Linked DNA regions of Homo sapiens: all the other regions are linked to region 1. The links are contacts of gene promoters, found by promoter capture Hi-C in blood cells and fetal thymus (Javierre and others, 2016). All regions are on one chromosome and are shown on one strand. The core of a region is centred on a gene start or on the middle of the fragment in contact, and the rest is flanking DNA. Distances in the headings are between cores, read along the strand shown. Region 1 holds the start of SLAMF7 (SLAM family member 7). Region 2 overlaps LOC105371466 (a long non-coding RNA gene). Region 3 has its middle 3.3 kb from the start of NECTIN4. Region 4 overlaps DEDD (death effector domain containing). Region 5 overlaps NCSTN (nicastrin). Region 6 has its middle 49 kb from the start of VANGL2. Region 7 overlaps VANGL2 (VANGL planar cell polarity protein 2).

Evidence for each region. The method cuts DNA at HindIII sites, captures the fragments that hold promoters and counts their contacts. A CHiCAGO score of 5 or more calls a contact.
Region 2: a contact is called between a fragment that was not itself captured here and the fragment with the promoter of SLAMF7 in region 1, in 4 of 17 cell types (non-activated CD4 T cells, total B cells, total CD4 T cells and 1 more). The highest score is 7.0, in non-activated CD4 T cells.
Region 3: a fragment that was not itself captured here is called in contact with the fragment with the promoter of SLAMF7 in region 1 in 6 of 17 cell types (total B cells, naive CD8 T cells, total CD4 T cells and 3 more); the score reaches 9.0 in total B cells.
Region 4: a contact is called between a fragment that was not itself captured here and the fragment with the promoter of SLAMF7 in region 1, in 1 of 17 cell types (total B cells). The highest score is 5.9, in total B cells.
Region 5: a fragment that was not itself captured here is called in contact with the fragment with the promoter of SLAMF7 in region 1 in 1 of 17 cell types (activated CD4 T cells); the score reaches 7.0 in activated CD4 T cells.
Region 6: a contact is called between a fragment that was not itself captured here and the fragment with the promoter of SLAMF7 in region 1, in 1 of 17 cell types (fetal thymus). The highest score is 5.4, in fetal thymus.
Region 7: a fragment that was not itself captured here is called in contact with the fragment with the promoter of SLAMF7 in region 1 in 8 of 17 cell types (activated CD4 T cells, non-activated CD4 T cells, total CD4 T cells and 5 more); the score reaches 8.7 in activated CD4 T cells.

Annotation. Positions count from the first base shown.
Region 1 is chr1:160,737,267-160,740,496 of GRCh38, forward strand. SLAMF7 (SLAM family member 7) reads left to right here and starts at 1,981. Exons shown (of 7, transcript NM_021181.5): 1 at 1,981-2,090. The coding sequence starts at 2,036. LOC124904440 (a long non-coding RNA gene) reads right to left here and starts at 1,893. Exons shown (of 2, transcript XR_007066687.1): 1 at 1,817-1,893. The HindIII fragment of the contact is 11,353 bases long and covers 1-3,230 here.
Region 2 is chr1:160,395,809-160,399,054 of GRCh38, forward strand. All of the region lies in intron 3 of LOC105371466 (a long non-coding RNA gene), which reads right to left. Among named protein-coding and RNA genes, the nearest start is that of VANGL2, 3.1 kb to the right of the region's middle. The HindIII fragment of the contact is 683 bases long and covers 1,133-1,815 here.
Region 3 is chr1:161,091,329-161,094,336 of GRCh38, forward strand. No RefSeq gene overlaps it. Among named protein-coding and RNA genes, the nearest start is that of NECTIN4, 3.3 kb to the left of the region's middle. RefSeq lists an enhancer at 1,448-1,547. The HindIII fragment of the contact is 3,929 bases long and covers 1-3,008 here.
Region 4 is chr1:161,125,025-161,128,340 of GRCh38, forward strand. All of the region lies in intron 2 of DEDD (death effector domain containing), which reads right to left. It also overlaps a transcript of NIT1 not described here. Among named protein-coding and RNA genes, the nearest start is that of DEDD, 6.0 kb to the right of the region's middle. The HindIII fragment of the contact is 1,588 bases long and covers 797-2,384 here.
Region 5 is chr1:160,349,620-160,353,023 of GRCh38, forward strand. NCSTN (nicastrin) reads left to right here. Exons shown (of 17, transcript NM_015331.3): 4 at 1-51; 5 at 486-631; 6 at 1,603-1,753; 7 at 2,077-2,186; 8 at 2,435-2,587; 9 at 3,268-3,372. Among named protein-coding and RNA genes, the nearest start is that of NCSTN, 7.9 kb to the left of the region's middle. The HindIII fragment of the contact is 1,190 bases long and covers 1,331-2,520 here.
Region 6 is chr1:160,447,925-160,451,273 of GRCh38, forward strand. No RefSeq gene overlaps it. Among named protein-coding and RNA genes, the nearest start is that of VANGL2, 49 kb to the left of the region's middle. The HindIII fragment of the contact is 4,867 bases long and covers 1-3,349 here.
Region 7 is chr1:160,427,153-160,430,129 of GRCh38, forward strand. VANGL2 (VANGL planar cell polarity protein 2) reads left to right here. Exons shown (of 8, transcript NM_020335.3): 8 at 1-1,518. Among named protein-coding and RNA genes, the nearest start is that of VANGL2, 28 kb to the left of the region's middle. RefSeq lists an enhancer at 2,716-2,945. The HindIII fragment of the contact is 421 bases long and covers 1,397-1,817 here.

The sequences.
Region 1 (3,230 bases), core at 731-3,230:
CCAGGAATGAGGGTTAAATCAAGACATTCTCAGGTGAAGGAAAACTAAGATAATTTGTTATCAGCAGGCTTATCATAAAAGAATTCCTAAAGAATATCTTGAAACAGAAAGAAATGATTAAAGAAGAAAACTTGAAGGCTGGGTGTGGTGGCTCATACCTGTAATCCCAGCACTTTGGGAGGCCAAAGTTGGTGGATCACCTGAGGTCAGGAGTTTGAGACTAGCCTGGCCAACATGGCGAAACCTGATCTCTACTAAAAGTACAAAAAGTAGGTGGGCATGGTGGCATGAGCCTGTAGTCCCAGCTACTCAGGAGGCTGAGGCAGGAGAATCGCTTGAACCCAGGAGGCGGAGATTGCAGTGAGCCAAGATCATGCCACTACACTCCAGCCTGTATGACAGAGCAAGACTTCGTCCAAAAAAAAATAAAAAGAAGGAAACTTGAAACATTAGAAATAAAGAAATAACAATGAAAAGAGTTAAAATATGGGTAAATGTAATGGATTGTCCTTCTCCTCTTGAGTGTTCTGAATTATGTTCAACAATTGAAGCAAAACTTATAATCTTACCGATATGGTTCTCAATGAATATAGACAATATATTTAAGACAAGTATAAAGATAGACTAATAAAGAAACCTAATATAGGTAAGTTTTCTATACCTAGTTCAACTGGTAAAATGTCAACACTGATAGGTAGATCAAAAGTTATGTATGTAAAATGCAATATGTACAGCAACCAGTAAAAAAACTCTTCAAAAAGATACATTATAGATAAATCAAAATGGAATTATAAAAAATATTCCAGTAACACACAGGATGGCCAGGAAAGTGAAACAGAGGAACAAAATAAACAAACAAAAGCCCAGAAGAACAAAGAGAAAATAATAACATGGCAAACTTAAGCTCTGATATATAAATAATTACATTATGTAAGTCAGTTAAATAGAATAGATAGCTCCAGAATATACCCACACAAGTATAAGTGCTGATTTTTGATAAAGATACAAAAGTAATTCAATGTAGGAAAGATCATCTTTTCCATCACATGGTAGTAGAACAATTGAACACCCACAGGCAGAAGAAAAAAAAACACGCACATTGTAATCATACTTCTGAAAACCAAAGGCAAACAAAAAACTTTTAAAACAGCTAGAGAAAAATGACACATTACCTATAGGGAAAACAATTTAAATGATGGCTGATTTCTCACTGGAAACCATGGAGGGGAGGAGTGTCATGACACTTTTCAAGTGTCGAAAGCAAAAAAAAACTGTCAACCATATTACCTGATATGGTTCTCAATGAATATAGACAATATATTTAGGTGAATCTCAACCTAAACTTCACACCTTACATTAAAACAGGATCATACATTTAAATGTAAAACATAAAACTATAAAACTTTCAGGAGAAAACCTTTGGACCCTAGTGTGGGTAGAAAAAAAACTGATAAGTTGAATTTCATCAAAATTAAAATTTTTGCTCTGCCAAAGACCCCGTTAAGAAGATGAAAAGACAGGCTACAGACCAAGAGAAAATATTTGTAAACCACATATCTGACAAATGACTCTTATACTTGGAACATATAAGGAATTGTCAAAGCTCAACAGTAAAAAAAATAAAGAATCTGATTATAAAATGGACAAAAGACATAAATAGACATTTCACCAAGGAGGATATGGATATATAGATGGCAAATAAGCACATGAAAAGATGTTCAACATTATTAGGCTTTAGGGAAATGCAAATTAAAGCCACAATGAGGTATCACTACAGCACCTATTAAAACAGCTAAAATATAAAATGGGAATATACCAAATGCTGATGAAGATGGGGAGCAAATAGATCTCTCATAGATTGCTGGTGGCAAGGTAAAATGCTCTATTCACTCTGAAAATAATTTAGCAATTACTCAATCTCACATGTCTGCGGCGTGACCCCTCCTGCTTCTTTAAATATCAGCTGGGGAAGAGGTCTGAGTAATACCTAAGAGGGAAGTGGCTTCATTTCAGTGGCTGACTTCCAGAGAGCAATATGGCTGGTTCCCCAACATGCCTCACCCTCATCTATATCCTTTGGCAGCTCACAGGTGAGTCCGGCCGGATTCTCTTCCACTCTCCTGTCTACCCCATCCTGAATAGTTCCAGGTTTCTTGTTCCACTCTGGGCCTCTGGCTCAACTCGGGAGGCTCTGTGTTCTCATCTAACATTTGCTTTTTATCAATCTCTGATCTCTGATTCTCAGGTCAGGAAGAGACTAGAGAGAGGGGGAAAAATGGCTCTGGGAACTGACTCCCCTGTTGACTGTCCCAGGGATGAAGGAGCTGAAAGAAGTGGTGCTGGGTATCAGAGACCATTTTTCTAATCCAGGTTCTGCCATGAGTTAGATAAGGAATGTTAAAGTTTTCCTGGGCCTCAGAAACTTTATCTTCTAGCCTTCTCTCCTTTTGAGGGCAACTTTAAGAACAAGATGATACTATACAGGTATGTATTTATTTACTTATAAATGTATTTATAAAATTGGTTATGCATAACAGTAATATAAATGGAAAGAATCACTTGAATTTTCTTTCCTTACTCAAGCAATGTAATCAGTCTCTACTTAGAGAACCAACTCATACCATAGGCACTTTATGTTTAATCCCATGGAGGACAGAGGACAGTTCTCCACCTGTCACTGGTATTCTAGTCTTTGAAGATTTTTCTATCCTAAGGGCTCTCAGAAAGGATCAGGAGCCCTATAAGTGAGAAATATCTCTTCTGTCATCAATCTCATGGAGTACTACCATGAGGTCCCCCTATAAGGACTTCACATAACTGCTTCATTATGTGTATCTGAGCCTGCCTGGAGTGATCTGCCCAAGACCACGCAGGCAGCTGGTGCCCCCAATATTTTCCCCTGCATCGCTAAGTGGTCAGCATCAGCAGACTCTTACCCACTTTGAATTCATCAGAAGTTTGTATTTTTGAGAGGTACCTGGGTCTAACCAGGTGGTTCTGGAATAGGCCCTCACTTTAAAAAAAAAAAACAAAAAAAAAACTCCCTGAACGGAAATGATGAGCAGAAATAGAACTTGAGGGAGATAAGGTGGAGGGGTTGGGGAAAATTATAGAGACTTTGAAAGCTACAGGTGTCCATCTGAAATCAGTCAGCGAAAGAGCACAAGTATGAAAAACTGCCATGCAGGTCCCCCTCTGCCCTCCTCCAGAGGCAGCCTGTGTAGTGTACC
Region 2 (3,246 bases), core at 224-2,723, 340 kb before region 1:
GGCAACATGGGAGGAAGACGGATTGGAAGGGAATGAGACATGTTTGGAAATGATAAAGGTCTGAATAAGCCAAGGGGATAGAGGTGGAAGGAAGATAATGTTGTTCCTTTTAAACCTATTACATTTAAGATACCCAAGGAATATCCAAGTTAAAATGTATGGTAGGAAGTTGAAAATTTGAGTCTTATGCTCACAAGATAGACCTGGATTTAGCAGCACTCATAAGTGAGTACTGACTGAAGCCACAGGAGTGAATGACATTGCTTTGGAAAAGCATGTGGAGTGGGGAGTAAGGGGGCCAAAGGCTGAATTCTGGGAAATAATAGTATTTGAAGTCAGGAGTAGAAAACACATTGGAAGGATGGCTGGGGTGCAAGGAGCTGAGGAGTGAAGGGAGGAAGAGAGATAGTAAAGAATCTATCCATTTTTTTTTTTTTTTTTTTTTTTTGAGATGGAGTTTCACTCTTGTTGCCCAGGCTGGCGTGCAATGGCACGAACTCGGCTCACCGCAACCTCCTCCTCCTGGGTTCAAGCGATTCTCCTGCCTCAGCCTCCCGAGTAGCTGGGATTACAAGCACCTGCCACCATGACCGGCTAATTTTGTATTTTCAGTAGAGACGGGGTTTCTCCATGTTGGTCAGGCTGGTCTCTAATTCTCGACCTCAGGTGATCCACCCGCCTCAGCCTCCCAAAGTGCTGGGATTACAGGTGTGAGCCACCAGGCCTGGCCTAAGAATCTACTCTTTTAAGAAGGTTGGATGAGAAAGAAATAAAAGCGAAGGCTAAAGCAAGAGGAGGCTGCTGAGTGGAGGAAGGTATTTCATTTTATTATGTCTGCTGGGCAAAGATCAGTGAAGAGGCCGAAGTTGGTTACAGGAGAGATTGTGAATAATGGATGGAGGTGGGAAAGGACAGGATATAACGCACACCTGCAGGGCCTAGTCCCAGCCAAGGGAGCTGGAGAGTGTCTATTCTTCCCAAGAAGGAGGAAGGAAATCAGAAAGTTTCATTCAGTGGTTCTCACATTAAAATCACTGAGGTATCTTAAAAAAAATGCCAATAGCTGGGTCACACCTCAGAAGTTTCTGGTTTAATTAGTCTGGGATGGTCCTGGGCATTGATGTGTTTTCAAAGCTTCCCAGGTGATTAAAATCTGCAGTCAAAGTTCACAACCACTGGTTTAATTGCAGGTAACATTTTAGATTAATGATAATGGGATTGGATTTGAGGAAACTCACACTTAATAAAGGTTGGATGAATAGGGAGTGGTCAAGGTTTCATAGATGAGGAAGGGAGAAAGAGAAGGAAGCTAGAAGGGAAGGCAGCTAATGCTAACTTATTGAATTTTATGTGCCAGAGATATAGAAATGAATGAGGCATGGTCCTTCTTCTTAGAGATCAGGATCTCACATGACAGACACTTCACCACAAGCCTATGACATAATACAGTTCTTGACCAGTTAAGTTTTTTTGTGTGTGAGCTACTTTTATTCTTTTTTTTTTTTTTTTTTAACTAAAAGTGAAGGGGGAAACCCCTCACACCCAGAACCCAGGTATTTCCCAATATAGACTGGGTCTGGAAATCCTTTTGTGAGCATTGAGAGTAGCCTTTCTGGGAAGGTGGGTGCTGGGGAAAGATCTGTAACTATTCCGGGAGATCAACTTGTACCCAGGCTCATCAGCAGGGCTGGAAGTAGATGGTGATTGTGGCCCTGCATGTGGGTACATTACTGCAGTCACCTGTACCTGGGAGGTGGCTAAAATTGCTAATTGCTTACATGGAAACACTTTGATGGCCATTCTGCTATAGTGTGAAGCTTCTATGAGTAAGGTACCAAGGATTCCCTTTCTCTGAGCAGCATTGTAAAAAGGCCCTACTTTTCATCAGAGCAGAAAACCTAACTTTTGCTACTGTGGTCTGGGCCTGACCTCCAGGGACAGCTTCATCCACACAGGAAGTAGGTAGGTGCTTCTCTATAGTCTGGACCTTCCCTCAGAGAGAGTCTACTGTCACTTCTTGAGTTCCTTGAATCTTCCCCAGGAGGGTCCAACTCCCAGGGCTCCTGGGAAGCCTCTGATCTGACCCCACCAGCCCCACCTCCACCTAGTGAGCTGGTGAGGTGTTGAAAGGGCTTTAATGGAGGGCCCTGGCTTTTAGCTAGGGGCCTCCTTCCCCGAGGAAGAGTACTGAAAGAAGTGTCCTAGAGAAGTGTTCTCTCCTAAGAGAAGTATCCTAGGCACAGAACAGAGAGGGGAAACTCGACTGGGAATTGACTGTGGCACTATGAGTATATGGAGGGTGTTCCTTCTGTTACCTCATTAGACCCTTTTTATATAAGCAGAAATTGAGGCTTGAAGAAATTAAGAAATTCGACTATGTCCTCAAGGACAGGAGCTGTACAAAATCCAATCTGTTCCATTCTATTGTCCCTCAGGCTCTTGGCCTCCCTCTGTTATTGTAGGTTGGCCCCTTTAGGAAAATCTCAGTTGAATGTCATTTCAGTGCTCTCCTTCCTTCTAAAGAATTAAGCTAGGTCCCTTAGACCATAGGGCACATGGGCCTTCTAGCTGGGTCTCTGTTTGCTTACTCAGTGACTTGGGGACGTGTGAAATCCAGATGGGATTCTATCCTGAGGTGAAGGTAGAAGGTAATACAGAGAATTGCTGAATGGGACAGACCACACCAATAAAATTTTTTGTTGGACTCTGTAATCCAGTGTTTTCATTGCAGAGATGTAATTGAAAGCCCCCAACCTCACCGTCAGAGAAAGGAGGGACTAAGCTTATTCTAGCCTGATGCCTGATACCTGTTAATTGGGAAGCCTTGTCTGTTAACATCCTGACTTAGGTTTCAAGCTTTCAGTGGGGCCAGACTATGGAATTATCTGTAATTCTGGCATCAGAAGCCCTTTTTCCAGTTCTTTGGGCCATTTTGGGGTCTGTGAAACAGGCTAGCAGCATGTGAAGATAATTCACACTAAATCTGCCTGAGAGTCAAGACAGTGCCACGGCAGCCCCGACTCTGTGTCAAATTACACACTAGCTGCCTAGCACTGGGGTGTGCTTTGGGGCAGGGCTGGGGACACCCATGTCCTCCCTACTTCCCTTAACCCTTCCCCAGCTCTCCTGCCACTCCCTCATACACCTGGTCGTGGTCACTGCCAGGAGCCCCAGTGCGGCCCAGTGCCTGCACATGATAGGCACAAGGTGAATGAGTGCCTGGACGCATGCAGGGACTTGGGTACC
Region 3 (3,008 bases), core at 349-2,848, 350 kb after region 1:
ACCACGGCAGTGACCTCTTCTTCAGGGGCTATTTCCTGCAGGTCAGAGGCCCTTAAAGGCCAGGCCGGTTGCCAGAATTCCCCAGTTTCTCTCCACCTCCAACCCCTTCTCTTTTTCAGGTCCCCACCTGTGCCAGGGGAACAGCCCCACCCAGATGCTGCTTTGAGATCCTCTGTGGCAGGGGTGGAGTAGGGCCAGCGGGAATGGGAGGGGGAGCATCCTGTGTTATAATTATAATTATCACACCTTGGATCCTATCGCATGCTTTCGGAGGAGCTGCTTTCCTTCCCACGGATTCACCCCTCCAGGTACAGGAAGCCACAGGAGAAACTGAGGCACAGGAGTGGAAAAGCAGTTAGTTCACAAGATGGATATCCAATCTCCTTCAGCCTATCCATTCACAGTATACCCCGTGAAAGTGCTACCAGTCAGGATGTCTCTGAACCCCTGGTTGGGCCCCTTAATCACTCACCCTGAACTCTAGCCATACGGAGCATGGAAAGGAGGCAGAACTGTCCAGAGGTGGAGTTAGGGTATGGCTATACTCATTTTTTCATGGGTATGATGCAGCCTTGAAGTAGGCTAAGGGCACCACAGGGCCTGAGAGGGAGCACTAGAGTCCAGCAGCCCACTCCAGGCCTTTGACAGAGTTAGGGATCTCTCTCCTCATTTCACAAATACCTATCTCAAGTCCCTCTGTCCCCTCCTTCCCCTCAGCCCTGTATGTCTCACAAGAGCCATGCTTTTGGAGAATATGCCCTCAAACTTAGGCCTTTCCTACCCTCTCCTAGGATGAAGGCTGGGGAAGGCATATTCTAGGATTGAGACTGGAAGGAAATATTGGATGAGGAAGATTTTCAAGACCAATGCCTGGTATCCTGGTTCGGTTCTCCCTTCCATATTGAATTCCCATTCCCCACATGCCTCACTCCTACCCTCCTCCTACCCACATTGTGGTCGCTAAGAATGAGAACAATTCAAGCCATGATAGTGTCTTTATCATGTGTGTTTGTCTGAGTGACATTGCTGCGTGCGCGCCTGCACCCATGCATTCCTTCAACAGACATTAAATGAGTGCCACTATGTGTCAGGCTCAAGGGAGGAGACCGAGACACATAACACATAGTCCCTGCCCTCAAGGAGCCTTCAATCAGGAGAGGCAGACACAGAAACAACTGTAACATGCTATATCCCACCATCATGTGTTCCCTACGTATCTCTGTACACATACATGCTATGCACATATGTGGGACTGTCTCTGTATGCACAGCAGCGGATGTTCTTCATGATCTGCATGCATCCAAGCATCCGCTTATACCTGTCTCTGTCCCCATGACAGGCTGCACGCCTCAGCCAAACCGGTTGGAGTGGGTTGTGCTGAAATTTTTGTTTGTGTCAATGGGACTTGAGGTGAGTCAGAGAGGGACAAGGATGGGTGGGGTGGTGTGGGGGAGAAGAAGAGTGAGAGTGAGGGTCAGATTGAGTGGGGGAGGGAAGGAGTGGGCCCAGGTTGGAAGGGGTGGGAGTGAGAGTGGGGTGCAGGAGGATGAGTTGGGGGTAGGAGTAGATGAGAGAGCTCCTTGGTGAGTAATATCCTGTCTGCCTGCAGTGAAGTCCCAGGTCAGAGAAGAGTCAGAGGCTGGGGGAGAGTCCCTTGTGCTTAGGGAGAGAGGAGGGTGAAAAATAAATCAGAGTGGAACTAGTTGGAAGCATGAGAGTGGATAAAATATTTGTGATCCATTTCTGTACAGCTTTGTCTCTGTGATAAGCTATTCCTGATCTGCTCATTGCAAACTTTCCGCAGTTTGTACAGAAAGGTGTTGGGGAGCTGATGACGTGGTGAAAGATTACCAATATGGGCCTTGATCTCACCCCCCAGGACCAAGGCTTCAAAGTCACTCCTCCTGCTCCTCCCTAGGATCACCCCTGCTCCATCCCGGGAGGTATGGGCATACCCCCATACAGAACACAGGGGCTCCAGCAGCTTTTCTTCCCCTAGAAAACACCTTTACTCCCCTCCTGATGGAACTTCACTATGCTCAATATTAGGATGGTGGCCTCCTGTTTTCTAGAAAATTACATCAAAACATTGCCATGTGCTATGTTGTTCTTTGCCTATCCTGCAGGCCCACCGATTCCCCAATACCCAGCCCCCAGCCCCATCCTTTAATGATAACCACATTTCTTGGTTGCCTAACAACCCTTGGAGATCAGGGGGCTGAATTTGCTTGTTCCTCGAGGGCCCTAAAGCTGGAGTGTGCCATCCAGGGGAGGAGGCAGCTAAATGCAAGACATGTTCAGGTCCCGTTTCTCGGTAGGTCCAGTTGTGTGCAGAGCCCCATCCTCCTTGCTCTCAACCCATGAACTTCGCAAGTTTCCATGAACACACTACCATGAAATCCAGGACCACAGTATGGGTTAAGGGACAAATATCTTTATTTTGACACTAAGACCCCACTGTGGGGAAATTCTACTCCCTGAAAAGGCCCTATGTATTGAAGCTCACTCAGGTCTTCATCAAAAATTGAGACCTTATGACTGTGCCCGGGGACCCCAAACTGGTGCTATAGTTCTAGAAAGCAGCCAAAGGGAAGAAGTCTGGCCACTTCTGGAAAGTTCTAAAGCTCCTTGCAGGAAAGTCAGATGGCTGGCTCTGGTCAGCAGGAAAAAAAGGGCAGTAACCCAGAGAGAAAAACACAAAAGTCGAAACAGTGAGAGACAGATCTCAAGGCACAGTGAGAAAAATGGAAACTTAAAGACAGAAAAATATACAAATGCTCCTTGACTTTTATGATGGGGTTATGTCCTGATAAGCCCATTGCAAACTGAACATATAAGTTGAAAATGCATTTAATATACCAGTCGCTAGCCCTAGAAAATATCAAAATTTAAAATTCAAGTATGGGTCCTACCGAACACGCTATCATTTTTGCATCACTGTAGTTTAAAAATTATAAGTTGGGTTGGGCATGGTGGCTCACACCTGTAATCCCAGCACTTTGGGAGGC
Region 4 (3,316 bases), core at 341-2,840, 390 kb after region 1:
GTTCAAGGCTGCAGTGAGCCATAATCCTGCACTGTAGCCTGGGTGACAGAGTGAGTCCCCCATCTCGGAAAAAAAAGAACTAGTTTAAATTCTGACTGTATCACTGAAAGGCTGTGTAGCTGTGTGACCGTAAGCAAGTCACTTAACTCCAGATTCTCAGTGCTGTCATCTATAAACAGGGATGAATGAATATACACCTCAGAGTTGTTAAGAATCCAATGAGAAAATCACGGGTAACCCTTATATAAATGGTTGTGAAACATTTCAAAGATACAAGCATCCTTGGCCTTTGCAGCCCAGAATCATCCCTCCACATTTTTCCTACAATCCAACCACATCAAGAAATGATAACTGCTCAGAAAGTTTATCAATATTTACCAAAACTCATGGATTTAAAATAAACATTAAGTTTCTACAATAAGCATTCTTGTAATTCTATGCCATTTGTACTCCCTTGATCTTCACCCTATTTGGCAATATCAACTTTTTTTTTTTGAGATGGAGTCTCACTTTGTCACCCAGGCTGGAGTGCAGTGGTGCAATCTCGGCTCACTGCAACCTCCGCCTCCCAGGTTCAAGCAATTCTCGTGCCTCAGCCTCCCAAGTAGCTGGGATTACAGGCACGCACCACCACGTCTTGCTAATTTTTGTATTTTTAGTAGAGATGGGTTTTTACCATGATGGTCAGGCTGGTCTTGAACTCCTGACCTCAGGTGATCCACCCACCTCGGCCTCCCAAAGTGCTGGGATTACAGGCGTGAGCCACCGTACCTGGCCTTGGCAATACCACCTTCTAAGCTTTCCTCATGGATGTCATTTACCAATCCCCTATCAATGACCAATCACAGCTCCACATTCGTTATATAGTTTGGCTCTTGATTCACAAAGTTCCTCCATCGTTATGGGCTACAGGTAATACCAATGACGCAGCCATTAATCAATTCCCAAATTCAACAACTTTGACTCAAGTCACTCATACTTACTGCTCCACCAGACAGTACCATCCTATACTGTGCACTCTCTGGTCACACTCTCCAATCACACAATCAATCCTAAATTCCTGTTAATGCTACTTCTAGATATTTCTTAAATCTATCCTACCTTTCCACCTCCACTGCCATGGTTCAGATTACAATAATCTCTCACCTGGACTACTGTAACTTTAAAAGTTCTCTGCAACACCAATCTTAACCTACCTAAATCCATCCACTGCCACATCTAGTTCAGTTAGCTGTCTGAAGTCCACAACTGACCAAGTCACTTTCCTGCTTCAGACCCATTGATTGCCCCATCGTTATCTATAAGAACACTCCAAACTCTTTTTTTTTTTTTTTTTTTTGAGACAGAGTCACTCTGTCGCCCAGGCTGCAGTGCAGTGGCGCGATCTTGGCTCACTGCAACCTCCGCCTCCCAGGTTCAAGCGATTCTCCTGCCTCAGCTTCCCGAGTAGCTGGGACTACAGGCACCCACCACCACGCCCAGCTACTTTTTGTATTTTTAGTAGAGACGGGGTTTCACCATATTGGCCAGACTGGTCTCGAACTCCTGACCTTGTGATCCGCCTGCCTCGGCCTCCGAAAGTGCTGAGATTACAGGTGTGAGCCACCACGCCTGGCCGAACACTCCAAATTCTTTACACACACATCAAGCCTTCTAAGATCAGGCCTACCTTCCCAACCTCATTTCCCATCACATCCGCTTTTTATTCTCTAACATTATCAGTTTGTTTATAGTTCACATACATCATGCAATTTCTCTATACCTTCTTCAGGCTCTTCTCTTTGCCTGAATGCCCCTCTCCCTTCTCTATTCCACACCCCCATCATCACTCTTTTTCAGATGGCTAACTCCTACTCATTCTTTAAGAGTCAGCTCAGATGCCATCTTCAAAATGCATTTTCTACACCCCCATGCAGAGATAAGTAGTCCTCTTCTGTGCGCTTATGGAACACTATGCATATCTCCTTTACACCATTTATCACCATGTACTAAAATTATTTGTGTATTTATTATCCCATTAGATCCTACTCAACTCATGGAGAGATATATTCATCTTTATATCCCTAGTGCCTAGTAATGGACAGAGCCTCAAATATAGTGGGAGCAACCCACTGTTGAACTGAACTTAATCTCCAAGAGATCACCTCAAGCAATTCCAATTAAGAAACAAATTCACAAAAGTCCAAGAGAGGACCCCATTAAAAACAGATACAGGTAATTCAGTTACCATGCATATATTCTAACTAGCCATAGCCTCCTCTGCAATGTCCAGAACTACCCACACCATACCACACCACTCTACCCTACTCAACAATTAAACAGGTTGCTCTGTCCATTTTATACAAAAAGGAACTGAGGCTAGACTAGGAAACAATAAAATAATAAGCTTCTTTGGAAAAACAAAGCTGATAGAGAAAGCTGAAGAGTAAGTAGGAACTGGTCCTTTCTTCCTCAGATGAAAAACTAAAATGAAAGCACAGAGAAACTCATTCCCTTAAGAAAAGGGGAGGTACACTCTGGGATCACTTAACCCTATACCATGGGTTCTGATATGTAGACAGGAAATGTAATCCATATATAGTTTTGAGAGCCCAGATGCCCCACCCAAAGCATGGGAAATAGCTATTCAACTATAGACTGGTATTCCTTGCCTCTTCCTCTCGATTCACCTGTTGCTGTTACTGGGTACAAATGAAGGTGCTAAAGGAAAATAAGTTATTGCTCATAGCAGGCAACATGAGAAAACTGAGCCTCCTCAGAGCCCCTGCAACTTCTCTTTGTTCCCTATCCCACCTGTTCCCTTGGGCCAGCTGTTGATTGTGAGGCTCTCAGATAAAGCAGATTGGGTAGGTTTCACATTAAACCAACCAGAAGAGCTGGTTGCTCCACAGTTCCCTAATTTAAAGTGTGCTTAAACCCCAGGAAATGAAGAAACACTGTCCCCACATACCCTCGCAATGGAAAATAAGGCAAAATACAGGAAAGCACTGTGGTCCTAATTATGTATCAATGGATGTAATTCTATAAGCTTCAATCCTTTGAAGTTAACTCCCTACATTTGAGAGGAAACAAACACACTAGCCACCTTTAAGTCCTAGATCCCAGGCTAGATCATCAATGTACTAGGAATTATAATAGCTTTTAGGTCAGTGGTTCTGAACCAGGGGCAAATTTGACCCCTGGGGAATATGTGGCAATGTCTGGAGACATTTCTGATTATTATGCCTGGTGGGGAAGGGGACTGCCATCAGCATGTAATGAGTAGAAGCCAGGGATATTTAGAAACATCCTATAGGACAGGTGCAGTGGCTCCCGT
Region 5 (3,404 bases), core at 676-3,175, 390 kb before region 1:
GTCCTGCCTCAGGCTTCTCTCCTAGTGTACAGTGCCCAAATGATGGGTTTGGTAAGTGTCCCAAAGGATCAGGAGAGCCTACTGTCACCTAAGGCTCACTGTTGCTTCGGTCTTACGTCTTTGTGAGGGATGTATATGTGTTTGTGTCTGTGTGTAGTGTCAGTAACTGACTCCCAAACAGGGGGTAGTGTTTATTTGTCTTTGCTGCTCATCCCTTCCCTCTCCTGCTTCCCCTTCCTTTGCCTTACCTGGCATTATCTCTTTTTGTCACGTGTTCACATCCCTAATCTTACAGCCTAAGACTCCCTGATACCATTGTCTTTCTATTTTAGTGTGGATGGTAATAGACTTCATGCCTACTTCTTTGAGTCACCACCTCCTTTTGAACTCTTAGTCCCAACTGAAAGATTCTTCTGCCGTCACCTGGTTCCTAAGTACTTGGTGTCCCAGTAACCAGTCCCCCTATTCCCCATCCTTCCCTTCAGGTGTTTACTCCAATTCCTATGGGCCAGAGTTTGCTCACTGCAGAGAAATACAGTGGAATTCGCTGGGCAATGGTTTGGCTTATGAAGACTTTAGTTTCCCCATCTTTCTTCTTGAAGATGAAAATGAAACCAAAGTCATCAAGCAGGTAATGACACTGCCAGCTCCTAGCAATTCCAGTTAGAAAGAAGATTATTTTTCTAGCCAGGTGTGGTGGTGTGTGCACGTAGTCCCAGCCACCCGGGAGGCTGAGACAGGAGGATCACTTGAGGCCGGGAGGCAGAGGTTTCAGTGAGCTGAGATGGCACCATTGCACTCCAGCCTGGGTGACAGAGCAAGGCCCTGTGTCACAAAAAAAAAAAAAAAAAAAGGATTATTTTATAGGCTCTCCTATTTGGAGGGTGGCTCATTCTTCTGGTACACCTGCTGAAAGACGGTTGCTCCAAAAAGAACCAAGACGTTAGTTCTTCTCACATTCTTTCCCCACATTTTGCTCCTACCTGATATTACAGCATTAAAGCCTTTTAGACTAGAAGAAAATATAAAGAATATCTGAAAGAGTAATATGAAACAAGGTACACAGCCCAGGTTAAGAACCACTAGTATCGTTAAAAAAAAAAGCATTGGATTAGAGATTGAGAAATTCAATTTGGTAATTTCTGAGCTTCTTTTTAGCTCTAATATGCCTTAATTCTGGTCTAGTATTTCCATTTTGACTCATAGAGTAGTTAAGAGATTTGTCCAAAGTTGTATGGTGAGTTGATCTCCAAGCTGTGTCATATCTGATTTCCTATCTCTAGTTTGGTGCTCTTTGTATCAGACCACACTGAATCTTTTCAGTGGCTGAAGCTTCAAATTGGGCCAGGCCATCTGGAATGGGATAGTTTCATCTCCAGCTAAACCACTGAGTCTGCAACCCTTTGTAACTCTTGATGAGTTTTTTTCTTTGACCTTATAGATCCTATGGTGGTTCTAGGATAACTATAGCTCAGGGATAAATGTCTCCGAAAAGGGTGTGGCTCCATCCCAAAAGGATGGAACTGGGCCCTCCTCCTTCTGGGATGTAAGGGAGGGCCTCCACAAACTAGCTGTCTCAGTGGGGTCCATCTCCCCTTTCAGTGCTATCAAGATCACAACCTGAGTCAGAATGGCTCAGCACCAACCTTCCCACTATGTGCCATGCAGCTCTTTTCACACATGCATGCTGTCATCAGCACTGCCACCTGCATGCGGCGCAGCTCCATCCAAAGCACCTTCAGCATCAACCCAGGTAGGGCAGATCCGAACCATGAGGGTAATGGAATAAGGGGCAGAGGGAGAGTGGAACCAGGCCAGGGAATGTTAGAGAGACTGTAATAGGGAAGGAGTAGACACCATGAAGGAGCTCTGCATGGGAGAACTAGAAACAATTCTGAAAAATTTAGGCAGCTTGTTCCTAAAGTGGATAGTGGCAGAGAAGCCAACCTCGGACTGTTGGAAGTAGAGAAAACGACTTAGAGTCCGTGGGGCACTGGTCAGAGATTTCCAATGTTGCCTTTATAGCTACCTTCTCCTTTAGCCTTGTTGATCTCTCATTGTTTGTGTCCTGCTTAGAAATCGTCTGTGACCCCCTGTCTGATTACAATGTGTGGAGCATGCTAAAGCCTATAAATACAACTGGGACATTAAAGCCTGACGACAGGGTTGTGGTTGCTGCCACCCGGGTGAGTGTTGGCTTCTGATCAGGATGGGCAGGGCTGGCACAAAAAGAGCTGGTAGGCCCCGCTCTAGCATATCAGATTTCAAAGTTGCTAAATTGGGAAGCCTCAAATGGGGAGGAATCTGGGCTGTGGGACTCCTGGGTTGTCTCCATTGCCACAGGACAGGTATATTCTCTTGACTGGAGCAAGAAAGGAGGTTTGGGGCCAGTTTTAAAGTATATATCCCCTGACTTTTCTTCTGTTGTACCTAGCTGGATAGTCGTTCCTTTTTCTGGAATGTGGCCCCAGGGGCTGAAAGCGCAGTGGCTTCCTTTGTCACCCAGCTGGCTGCTGCTGAAGCTTTGCAAAAGGCACCTGATGTGACCACCCTGCCCCGCAATGTCATGTTTGTCTTCTTTCAAGGGGTAAGGGCTCTTTGGCTGGGGTGCAATGGCAGGGAAGAAAGAGGATAGTAAAGATGAGAGTGGCTACTGGTTGGAGAAGACCTCAGCACTTGACCTAAGTTGTTAACCAGCACAGAGCTTCTGGATGTGTCTACATGTGTCTCCCCTTTAGATTCCTCCATTTTAGGAAGCTTAGATTCCTTCTTTTTAGGAAGCTTTTACACCCTGAATTGGTATGTAACCAGCCCCCTCTTTCCCCCACTGATAAGATATATTGGAGGCGGCCTTTTACTTTTATTCTCTGGACTCCTTTACTGCTATCTCCATCCAGGAGCCGTTAGGCTCCTGACTCTCATCACTAGGACCACAGCAGAATAAGGGAACAGCATCTGTGGCTGAGTCACTGGAGGTGGGGGACCGTTAAGAATCAGACACATAATAGCTGATGTTCATCTTAGACCTTTACTAAGGCTACTTTCCCCATTTCTGGGCTTCAGAAGTCTTGTAATACATATGAGGGATAGTCACAGCTGGGAGGTGGGGCCAAGAGAAGCCGAAAGTCACATGACTGTAAGCTGACTAGCAGTTGAGGTGACCTGAGATAGTCGTCTTACCTACAGCTTTGATGATCTGGCCGCCTTCGAGGCTCTCCTAACCCTTTGGAATCTCTGTTCCCCCTCCCACCTACCTCCATCTCTCAGGAAACTTTTGACTACATTGGCAGCTCGAGGATGGTCTACGATATGGAGAAGGGCAAGTTTCCCGTGCAGTTAGAGAATGTTGACTCATTTGTGGAGCTGGGACAGGTATGTGGCATGTCCCCCAGCCCCTTCCTTTT
Region 6 (3,349 bases), core at 225-2,724, 290 kb before region 1:
GATTCAAACGTGGTCTGCCATCTGCAGAGTCCAGTGTTTAACCACTAACAAGTGGAATCTAGGGTAAAGGGCACCTGTGTGGTATTATAACTCAGGTTAGAATCCAATTCGTTACCTTAGAACCTGGGTTTCCTGACTTTTATCCAGTGATTGTTTCTTGCTTTTTTCATTCTTTTATTGTGAAATATGTCATACACAGACTATATTGGATGAACACACACATTCAGTTTTTGTTGAACCATGCATGTGAAATTGTCAATATTTGCTCAGATTTGGCACGTAACAATAGCAACTTCATGATTTAATATACCATATTGTATTTTAATGAACTATATTAATTCATTCATATGCATATATATATATATACACACACACACACATATATATATATATATATTTTTTTTTTTTTTTTTGAGAAGGAGTCTTGCTCTGTCACCCAGGCTGGAGTGCAGTATGTGATCTCAGCTCACTGCAACCTCCATCTCCTGGGTTAAAGCGATTCTTGTGCCTCTGCCTCCCGAGTAGCTGGAATTACAGGCATGCGCTGCCATGTCTGGCTAATTTTTGTATTTTTAGTAGAGAGAGGGTTTCACCATGTTGGCCAGGCTGGTCTCAAACTCCTGACCTTAAGTGATCCACCCGCCTTGGCCTCCCAAAGTGCTGGGATTACAGGCATGAGCCACCATGCCCAGCCAATTCATTCATATTTAATGAACCTATTTAATGAACTACTATATCCTGGTTTAATGAACTAGTTTAAAGTTAAGCAAACCCTAATATAAGCAGCACACAGTTTAAAGAGTAGAGCATTGCCCTCTATGTGCCCCTCCTCCTCCTCCTTGCCCTCTGTAGATAATACTATGCTGACTTTTGTGATAATCATTTCTTTTCTTTGTAGTTTAACAACTGTGTTGGCATCCTTACAGAATATAGTTAGTTTTGCTTGTTTATGTCTTTATATAAATGGGTTATACTGCAAGTGTTCTTTTTCAAGTTGCTTTTTTCATTCAATATTAGGTTTATGAGATTTTCCAGACTGATGCATGCATTTATAGTTTTAATTAATTAATTGATTTTTATTTCAATAGCTTTGGGGGTACCAGTGCTTTTTAGTTACATGGATGAATTGTAGAGTGGTGAAGTCTGGGCTTTCAGTGTATCCATCACCCAAATTAGTGTACATTGTACCCAATAGATAATTTTTCATCCCTTATTCTCATCCCAACTTCCCCCTTTGTGAGTCTCCAATGTCCATTACACCACTCTCTTAGATTTCCAATCCATGAGCATGAGATGTTTGTTTGTGTCATCTATGATTTCTTTCAGCAGTGTTTTGTGGTTCTCCTTGTTGGTTAAGTATATTCCTAGGTATTTTTTTTTGCTAGCTATTGTAAATAGGATTGAGCTCCTGATATGATTCTCAGCTTGGTTGTGTTGGTGTATAGCAGTGTTATTGACTTGTATACATTAATTTTTGTAACCTTAAGATTTGATGAATTCATTTATCAGATCTAGAGATATTTTAAACAACTAAACTAGATCTACACTTGGATCCAGCAATTCCGCTACTGGGTGTCTACCCAGTAGGAAGGAAAATAAGTCATATTAATAAAGACACTTACACATGTATGTTTATTGCAACACAATTCATGATTGCAAAGATAAGGAATCAACCCAAGTGCCCATCAACCAATGAGTGGATAAAGAAAATGGTGTATATACATGCCACGGAATACTACTCAGCCATAAAAAAGAATGAAGTAATGTATTTTGAAAAAACTTGGATGGAATTGGAGGCCACTATCCTAAGCGAGGTAACTCAGGAACAGAAAACCAAATACTGCATGTTCTCACTTTTAAGTGGGAGCTAAGCTGTGGGTATGCATTTATAGGGTTTTTTTTGTTTGTTTTTTTGTTTTTGTTTTTTTTTTTGAGATGGAGTCTTGCTTTATTGCCAGGCTGGAGTGCAGTGGCACTATCTCGGCTCACTGCAACCTCTGCCTTCAAATGATTCTCCTGCCTCAGCCTCCCAAGTAGCTGGGACTACAGGCACATGCCACCACGCCCAGCTAATTTTCGTATTTTTAGTAGACACGAGGTTTCACCATATTGGCCAGGATGGTCTTGATCTCTTGACCTCGTGATCCGCCTACCTTGGCCTCCTAAAGTGCTAGGATTACAGGTGTGAACGACTGCGCCTGGCCTATAGTTTTTATTGTTGTTGTATGATATTCCGTTCTGTGAATAAATCACAGTGTACTTATTCATTCTACTGTTGAAGAGCATTTTGGTTGTTTCTGGGTTTTAGCTAATTAGCACAACACTCCCGTGAACATTCCTACATGTGTCTCCCGGTGCAGATGGCAGAAATCCCTCCAAGTCTAGTGTACATATTTATGGGTAGATTTACTGAGTGGAAGACAAAGCTAAACCATTTACACTAAATGACTCTGCACCCAGCAGGTACCAAGTTTCCATTGCTCCACATCCTCTCTTACACTTGGCGTTATTAATTTTAATGTGTTTGTCATCTAGGGGTGTGTAGTGATCCTTCGCTGTGATTTTAATGTACATTTCCTGGATTATTAAAGAGGGTGAACAATTTTACGTATCTTCAGTGATCATTTGGATTTCCTCTTTGCCCTTTGGGAAATGCTGTTCATGTGTCTCCCTCTCTCTCTCTCTCTGTGTGTGTGTGTGTGTGTGTGTGTGTGTGTGTTCACAGGAATTCATTACATGTTTCTGGATATTAGTCCTTTGTCAGTTACATATACTGTAAATATCTGCTCCCAGTTGTGGCTTGGTTTTTACTTTCTTTATGGTTTCTTTAAGTAAAAGGATTTTTAAAAATTTAATGTATGTGTATGATTAGTGCTTTTTATGTCTTGTTTAAGAAATCCTTTTTTATGCCAAGATCATGAAGATATTCTCCTATATTGCCTTTTAAAATCTTTGTATTTTTGTCTCTTACATTGAGGTCTTTCATACTCTTAGAATTGAGTTTTGTGTATGGCGTCAGGTAGTGGGAGGAGGTCTAGTTGTTCCAGTGTGATTTATTTTTAAAAATCCATTGTTTTCCTACTGATACGCATTGCTATCTTTGTTATGTATCAGTTTTCCGTGGCTTTTTCCAGTGGGGTAATCACTGTCCCCTGTTCACTTTTGAGAACAATTGATGATTAACTTTATGTACTTGTTCTCTCCTCCGTTTATTTTTTCTATGTGGTTATTTTACAGATGTAGTATCATGAAAACACTACAGTGTAATCAGTATTATCTCTTAACTTCCTTGATTTAACTCTAGTCAGACTACCCATTCATGCCTTGTAAGTCCCCTTGGATGCTGTGT
Region 7 (2,977 bases), core at 357-2,856, 310 kb before region 1:
TGTCCTGTTCTGGGGGTCTGTCTCTTTTCTTCTCTTCAAAAACTTTGTGTCAGAGAGTCCCTTCTGAGTCACATAAATACCTCACTATCCTGGAAAACAGGGCCTGGATGGTGACTGGGGTCATTGCCTTTGTGGACAGGATGGAGTGTGGTGTGGTCTGAGGAGCAGGTTGGGGTGGGGGAGAGGGAAAGGATTTGGGATCTTAGTTGCTGCCCTAGGTTAGGGGCTGGGGAGTGTTTATTTTAAGATCCTGCCATGTTTTTAATCACTGTGATTTTTTTTTCATTCCCCTTTCCTAAAAAAAATTTTTTGCCTCCAACTCTCTAAGCACTAAGGGCTGTGCCTGAGAATGGTAGCATTTTGGTCTTTTGCTTCAGAACTGTGGTATCTTTGTCTTTTTTCATTATTATTATTATTATTATTATTATTATTACTATTGTTTTTTAAAATGTCAGGATGAATTGTCAGACATATGGCCATGTGTTTGTCCTCTGCTTCTCCCCTGTGGGAAGTTGTCTCCATGCTGTGAACTGCTGTGGGGTGTGCAGCTGACTCAGTCCCTCTGAGCAGTTTCCCCACTGTGTCTGTCCCATCATGCGCTGGATCTGCTCATTCTCCTGCTGTGGGGGTATGCCCACCTCTTACCCCCTTGACACCATAGGGCTGCTGTGGCTGGGCCTCACCAGCACTGTCTTTTGTGTGACTCATGGCATCCTCGTTCATCCCCACCGTGCCTAGCAGGCCTTCCTTTTCACCACCTCGGAACGCTTGCCTTTCCTCCCTCCACAACAGGACGCTGTGCCTCAGTCCTTCACCTACCTCGCCACTCTGCCACTGTCCCCATTGGTCCTTTCTCCTAAACTGGTCTTTGTGCTCTCTTTGTTTTTTCTTATTTCCCTCTTGTCTCTCATTTTTTCTTCCCATTCCCCTCCCATTTCAGCCCTTAACTTTTCTCTTTCCCATCTCCACTCAGTATTCCAATGGCAAACCCTGATGATGTAACACCTGCGATGAGACATCGGACTCTCCGGAACTTTCTCATCTGACACGTCTTTTTCCCAGGGTTCGTACTTCTCCTCCATTGGTCCCAGGCTAACTCCCCTGTTCCTCTGTGGTGTCTGTCAGTCCGTCTGTCTTCTCTTTCCTCTGCCCTTCCCACAGGGCAGTATCTGCTGATGGATTCAGTCCTGGTGTGTGATTGTTGTGATTTGTTCTTCCGTGCGCAAAAGGAAGAGGGCTTTTTGAGTCCCTTCCAAGTGAGATTGTAAATGTAGAATTTTCCACTGTTGGATCTAGATTTTTTTTCCTTTTTTTTGGGGGGGTGGGGTTACAGAGCTGAGACCTTGTGCATGCATGTAGAAAATTGTAAAATGTAAATTTTTTTTAATATATAAAAAGCTTGTTTCTACAGTTTGCAGTGGATCTAAACATTACGGCAATTTTAGGATTTTTTTCTTAAACATAGGAACTAAAACTGTACAAATTTTTTTTATATAAAATAAAGACATTTGACTTTTGTGGGGGCATTCTGTTGCTTTTCTTTCTTTACAGGAATGGGAGCAAATGAGGGCCAGGGAATAATGAATATATTCCTTGTTAGGGAGGGAATGGGCAGGAGGGGGCAGTGTGAGCTCATCATTGCTCTGCAGGCCTTCAGGGTGTGTTGGAGAGAAATGGGAAAATGAAAAAGGAAATTGCTTATTCTGAATCCTGATTCTAAAGAGAGAGAAACAACAATGTGAGGGCTTAACCACTTCCTGGTGTAGTTGTCAGGATAGAGAAAGAAAGATTACTTCCTGGGTCCACCCTCCTGAGCAAGCTTGTGTCTGTATGGCCTCTAGGGCAGGAGTGGGTTTCTAAAACGTATTTCTAAAACATAAAGTGCCATAGGAATTTCAGGGGATAGTTGAGATTTCAGTCAGTGGTGACAGCCCATCACAATTCATTGAGACAAGTTTCTGTAGTATATATATTAGTTCTAAATATGTAGAGAGTTCAGTGCTCTGTTGTCACTGTAATGCATGTAATCAGGTACTAAAATCACCCTCAAGAGATTGGGTCCCTTCTCCCAGTCTTACCTGGGCCTGACCTCTGTGACTTTGGGCAAGATGCTTAGCATGTAAACAGCCTGCTAAGGTTAAAAACAAGCATTTCTGTATGGAGGTGGCCTATTCACTAGATTTCCTCCTCCTCTCCCCTGCCTCATACTCTGCCAGGCTCTGGGGATGCAAAGGCAAGAGAGGCTCCATCCTGGAGGATGACCCAGTTTACAGGGGTGACAGGCTGGGTGACCCTAGTGCAAGGCTTCATGGCGTGTTCTCAGGCAGAGTGTAGACAAACCCTGGCTGGATTCCAAGGAGCTCGGGGAGTTTCCTTCAAGAAATCTAGGAAGTTTGTTTAAGACTCAAGATGGGGGAACACACTCACCTTGAGATTACATTTTGTTCATCTAAGTATTCCTAGAATTGAAACCAGTTCCTCGCATATAGTTGGTCCTCAATAAAAAATTGTTGCATGAATAATGAACTGAACAACTAACAATACAATAGGGGCTCATGAAAGGGATCATATACTTGCTTCTCCCTTTAAAATTGCACTCCAGTCTTTCTCATGTGAAAACAAACAAAAATACTTCCCTTGAAATTGCATCCCCATTCTCACGGCTCTGTTCTTTCTGTAACTAGGTTTGTAGAATAGTTTCACTTGCTGTTTCCAGTTCATTTCAGAGTCAACTTGTGACTTACATTGTGACCAAATTTCTACCTTAGCATGCCTCTGAAATTATTCTTGTTCTCAACAGCCAAGTATAGTAAACACCTTTTAAGTTTATTCTTTATTTAGTGCCTATGATGTTCCCAGCCTGATACTAAAGTACTTTCTCTGGTAAAGATACTGGATATGGTCCTGCCCTCACTGAGCTAACCTTGGTGGACCCTTGAGAAGGCTAGTTAACCTCAGGGACCTCCTCTTGTAATGC